2 separate regions of the Homo sapiens genome follow, and region 1 is linked to region 2. Evidence: promoter capture Hi-C in human tissues and cell types (Jung and others, 2019). All regions are on one chromosome and are shown on one strand. Each heading gives the region's core, a stretch centred on a gene start or on the middle of the fragment in contact. The rest is flanking DNA. Distances are from core to core; before and after follow the strand shown.

The links. The method cuts DNA at HindIII sites, captures the fragments that hold promoters and counts their contacts. A contact is called where the count stands out against the background at its distance.
Region 1: a contact is called between the fragment with the promoter of KRTAP8-1 here and the fragment with the promoter of KRTAP27-1 in region 2, in 4 of the 25 tissues and cell types used here (H1 embryonic stem cells, hippocampus, liver and 1 more).

Annotation. Positions count from the first base shown.
Region 1 is chr21:30,811,754-30,814,541 of GRCh38, reverse strand. It overlaps KRTAP8-1 (keratin associated protein 8-1), which reads left to right and starts at 1,268. Exons shown (of 1, transcript NM_175857.4): 1 at 1,268-1,845. The coding sequence starts at 1,322. The coding sequence ends at 1,513. The HindIII fragment of the contact is 6,797 bases long and covers 1-2,788 here.
Region 2 is chr21:30,335,836-30,338,943 of GRCh38, reverse strand. KRTAP27-1 (keratin associated protein 27-1) reads left to right here and starts at 1,250. Exons shown (of 1, transcript NM_001077711.1): 1 at 1,250-1,931. The coding sequence starts at 1,276. The coding sequence ends at 1,899. The HindIII fragment of the contact is 14,979 bases long and covers 1-3,108 here.

The sequences.
Region 1 (2,788 bases), core at 19-2,518, 480 kb before region 2:
TTGATTCCTAGCTGCTGATAGCAGGGAGCAAAGTTACCTCTGGGTTATGAAGTAAAATCTGGGAGAGCTCATGTGTAATACATATCTGTTTTGTGGCCTTCTAGAATGATTCCTATTATCTCTGTGCCTATTTCTGTTCCATATGCCCTCTTTGGTATTTGTTCTGTAAGTTCTCTACTAAGTGCCACTGTAAGAAATCTTAATGCAGGTGTCTGAGAATAATATATCAGGTCTTACATGATCCAAGATAGTTTTGATCAGCCTTATCCCTCCTTTAACTCATGCTTGAGAACTGACTCTCTGTTTAGAAAGGAATAACATTCCTTCTTTATCCTGGGGTGCATGATCATTGTAAAAGTGAAATAACTGATTTCATGTTGTCATCTGGCCCTTTATAATATCATCACATTTGTCAGACAATCTAGTTTCATTAGATCTAAGAGAAAAAAAATTTTAAATCTTACAATAAATTTTTTAATTCATTTTTCTGTGTTTACCTTATTAGTTTCAATGTTTAGTTTGAAATATGTTTCAGGCCAAAAAATTAAATTTGTTTGACAATTCAGTACAAGGATTAATCCAAATACTCCGTTTTAAAATCTCAATACTATTAATTCAAGTAGTCTTCTAGAAATGTGATGTTAGGTATAGTTTAGGAGGGGACTATGATTAAGATTACACTTTTAACCAGTTTCCCAAACACGGTAGCTGTAGTAGAGGAAAAAAAAAAGACTCTTTCTCATGAGTTCCATTGCACTTGTCTTTCATATTCCAAAAAAGAGAATCCTTGAAGCAGGTGAATACTAAGACATACTTTAATTTTGAGAATTTTGAGATAGACTCACTATCCATTTGTTATTTTATATATTAATGTATTTAACACATATTTATTGAATTTCAACTGTGTGTTGTGGAAATTCAGAGAGCAAGAGGACTGCATAACAGCTAACAACCTCAGAATATTTCTTGATATTATATACCTGCTTACAGAGTTATATGGGGTCTATAAGACAGAGTGCTTTGAAGTCCTGGCAATAATTTTTTTTTTTTTAGGAAGGGAAATAATTTGTTTAAAGGCATCTTCTCCCTGTATTGCATCACACGAGAGCTTTCTTAAGCCACTGTAAAGACATCATAAGCAAGAGCAAAACAAGTTAATGAGCTTTTTAGAATGTAAATTGGTGTCAAGAATGAAAATGAGGGCTTTGTGTTTTTCACCACCCACCAGAGCTGGGATATATAAAGAAGGTTCTGAGACTAGGAATCCATCCCACTGAGGAAACGCACTCTGTTGCTACCTAAGCCCTCCACTCCCGACACCATGCTCTGCGACAACTTCCCCGGGGCTGTCTTCCCAGGATGCTACTGGGGCAGCTATGGCTACCCGCTGGGATATAGCGTTGGCTGTGGCTATGGCAGCACCTACTCTCCAGTGGGCTATGGCTTCGGCTATGGCTACAACGGCTGTGGGGCTTTCGGCTACAGGAGATACTCGCCATTTGCTCTCTACTGATTGGCTGAAATCCCCGAGGTGTAGCATCTTCTCTCCCTTGAAGGCTGAGCCCCACATCTCCAGGTTCCCCCCGTATCCACTCCTTCAGTCCTCATTTGCTCATCAACCTCAGAGACACTGCTTTCCAACTTACCTCGAGTCCCAGGGGAGGAAAATGAAAAAGCAGACGCTTCCTCAAGCTGCCTCCCCTGGCTGATGTTCTCTGGGACATTTTCGGAAATTTGACCTCCCACTTGTCATGAGCTACTTTTGAATTTTCCATGACACTCATGACTTGTGATGAAGTCATGGATATGTCTATCAAAATCTCAATAAATTTGTCTCAGCTGGTATAATATTCTCATGCTAGAGCGAAGTTTCCTTTCTTGGTGTGTGCATATTTTCTGTTACATGGGTGGTGGGGGGGAAGTGAATTTATTTTTCTCATGTGGGCATTAGGAACAGCCAGAAAGCAAAGAATTACTGATCCTGTGTGATAAGCAGGTAAGAGGGTGGGTTGCAGGTAATGACTTAAAAGGTTGCCTGTTTGAACCTTCTTTAAATTTTATGATGCCCACCTCCAACCCAATGGAGCACCATTTATTGCTCGGGGTCCCCTTCTCATCTCACTACTTCTGCTCCTCCGCAAGAAAACCCAACACAGGAGGAACTTTTTCAGTCACTTCCATGTTAGTCCAAATGAAATCCACTGTGTTCCCTTTCCCAGGGACTAAGGATTATAGACTAAAGTGCCATGCCCCCTAATGAAGGATGCTGGAGCATTGAGTAATAGAGAAGCCACAGACATCCTTTGGAAATCTGAGAGTTTTTAAGGTGAAGGGATAAATCCCCTATATCAAACCATCTAAGGTGTCTATTTTGTAGCTTTGAAGCACCTGGGTTATTCACAACCATGACAAGTTTCTTAATCTTTATAGAATCAACACCAGATAGCGAGTTTCACTTAAAAGATATGAGCTGTAATGAATATTTCTGAAGATGTATCAGCTTTTCTCTGTGTTCCTTTAGGGAAGGGAGCAATTTCCTTTTATAAGCCAGATAAAAAAAGTCTCAATCCTTCTATTGAAAACATCTTATGTATAGTACAAATATTCTTGGTGGTAACAAAATTTGGCTTAACCCTGCTTTTTTATTGAATATGTGCAAGTGATTATATTGCATATGGTTCACTTCGTAGTTAAAAACATAAAGACTATTTGGCGAGGTCATTTCAGAAGAGAGTATTTTCTCCACCATACTTTATCTAATGTATATCTTTTTTAAAAAATCGGGAAA
Region 2 (3,108 bases), core at 1-2,500:
GATCTTTAAACATACAAGTGTGGTTATTCAAAATTATAAATGACTTGCGTGTGTTACAAAGGTATTGTATACAAGATGAGTGTGCAGCCTATAAAGCTGAAAGTATTCAGATGTGCCCTTTTAAATTTATAATATCCTCAGTCTTTCAAGGAAGTGTTTGCATAAGAATTACTGAGAATTGCTGAATGTTCTTGGGCTTCTTCAGACCTTAGAAAGGGAGTCTAGTTAGTGCACTAAGACTATACTTCTATTTTATTGTCATTAGCTGAGCCAAATATATTATAGAATATGTTATAGAAATTGTGCTGGTTGGCTCTGTGCCATGAGTATGAAACTATGCTAAGAACGGTGTCCTAATGCGATAAACATAGGAACTGATCATCTGTCTGCAGTCAATAAAAAAAGCACAGAATAAAGATGAAAAATATCTGAAGAAGGTTCATTATAAAGGAAAATAATCAACCTTTGAGAAGCACAAACACAAGTAAACACACCACTTTGTCAAGTATAGAAAAAAGGAATTAAATCCATTAGTAATTCAGAAAAGGAAGAAATAACTCCTAAATGGGAAGATTGGGGAAGACTTCAGGAAAAGGACGCATTTAAACTTGGCTTTCAAGGAGATTAGGGAAACGAAATGTTAGGCAAAAGACAAGTATTTATTGGGCAATGGCCACACTCAGTACTTTGCATGAACACTGAGAAGGAATGTGATCACAAAGTCCTCTCACATTCTGGTCCACTGGAGAGAACAATATCTGAGTGGAATGAGATTGGGCTCAACCTGGATCCAATTCTAACTTTAAATGTCTTGAACATCAAATTACCACATTCTGCTACATTGGCAGCTCTCAAAACCAGTGCTAAATGTTAATCAGTATTCAGTTGGCCACTGCCTCATGCATTTCTCATTGTCCACTTACCAATGTGCAGAGTCATGGTGGCAAAAAAAAAAAAAAATGTTAGCTTGGTTGGACAGGTTTAGACTCTTATTTGACCAACCCCACCTTGAATGAGTCATCTTTGGAGCTAACATAAAAGCCATTTTGAAGATTCAAAATGGACTTACATCTTTGTTAATAAGACATCATCTGCATATATAACCAAAGTGGTAATGAGATGTTATCCTTCAAATTAGTTTAAGCAATGAGTTGCAAAGAAGTCTTGAGAAGCCAACACCCAGGTTTCTGAGTATATAATCGCCGCACCAAAGAATTTAATTTTCAAACTCAGCATGTTGAGTCCTTATGACCATCTTTAAGGATTTTTAGCAATATGCCTCATAGCCACTGCCATTCACTCAGGAGCTTCCACAATGCCCCACCACTCTCTGCCATCACACATGGCACTAATCCTATAACCTTTGAAGACAGATTGTGTTTGCCCAGCAGCTTCCATAGCAGAACCTGTTTCCTGGACAACTTTCAAGAAACCTGCAATGAAACCACCAGCTGCCAAATGACCAATTGTGAACAGGACTTATTCACAGACGATAGCTGTGTGCAAAGTAACTGCTTCCCCGGAGTTGTCCAAACTACTTACTCCAATTCCAGGCCCTGCGAAAGGACAGCGTGCCAATCAGAAAGTTCTTCAGCAGGGCTGGCTTGTGTTTCTCAGCCTTGCCAATCAGAAAGCACTCAGCAGATGGGTTTTGTAGCCCAGAGCTGCCAACCTGCAAGCCTCAAGGGAAACAGTTGCCCACCCAAGACTTCTAAGTCTAAAAATTTCGAAACTCTGGAACGTGCATCTAGCCAATGTCAGTGTCAGTCTCAGAACCCTGAATCCAGTTCCTGTAGACCTCTGGTCAATGTTGCACCTGAGCCACAACTCCTGGAATCTTCTCCAGGAGTTGAACCAACTTGCTGTGTTACTGGTGGTTCTCAATTGCCTAGTAAGTGAAGATCTGTAGGGGAGATGGCTTATATTCTCATTTGGATGAATTTATTTTTGAGATACTTAGATATTTTGTATTTCTTTAAATAAAAAATGTTGTGTGTGTTTGTTAGTAAATGAACATGTCTTATTTTACTACTGTCTCCAAAGACAAGATTTTTTTTCTTGTTTTTCTTTTGGGTATGTCTAGTGGTAATCTGGGGTTGGAAAGCATGCTAGCTATTTTAGAGCAGTAGGATACGATTTGTTATTAAGCAATAAGAGCTGTAGCCAGGAAATAACATGAATACTTAAAGGAAACATCACACTTTAACTGCAAGTTGTTTTCTTTGGAAATACTTAGCATTGGATCTGGTTTATTAAGTAATGTGCTACTAGTCTCAGAAATTCATAAAATATTGGAACCAAACCTAAAAGCCTACCTAGTCCTGTGAATTACGATAGGTTCAACTCTATCAGAGGTTGCCCAAGTAGTTAATAACATCAGAACCACAACTAAAATCCAGGCCTACTCACTGGCCATCTGTTATTTTAGCCATTGAATCACAACATTCTCAAATTAACTAGAAGATTAAGTCTATTGTTCGAATAGAGCAAGGTAATTTTGAATTTCACCTCCATGGGCTTTATAACCACGTAGCAACCAGAAGCCTTTAAATAGAATGAATTGAAGTTTAGAATCTTCACTTCATTTCGTTCCCGTTGTTTTTTTGGTTGTTTGTTTTTTTCCTGTTTTCATTATTTCTTAAGTATTTTTTGAGTTTGGAAAATATTCTTTGTATTAAATAAATTTGCTTTCTTTGGAAGCAAAATTTGGACTTGTCACACTATTATTTTTATTCAATCCTTTTGCAGGTGTTATGTTACAGGCTTTTTGTTTCTTCGTTTGTTACCTAATGAAAATAGTATAAATATTTAGAAGAAAAGAGAACATATCCTCTTGTTATAATTTTTATAGTGTGAACCAGAAAAGAATAACTCATGGTGGTAGTCAACAGAAGATGGAAAATATACTCATATGAACATCATAAGACCATAGAGTCAGATGTTTGAAATTGATTAATTTTATTTAGGTAGCTTAGCTATTCTGAAACTTTTGGTGTGTTCTTAAATTGATCTTTCAATTTTTTTTTTTTTTTTTGAGATGGAGTCTCGCTATGTCACCCAGGCTGGAGTGCAGTGGCGCAATCTCGGCTCACTGCAAGCTCTGCTTCC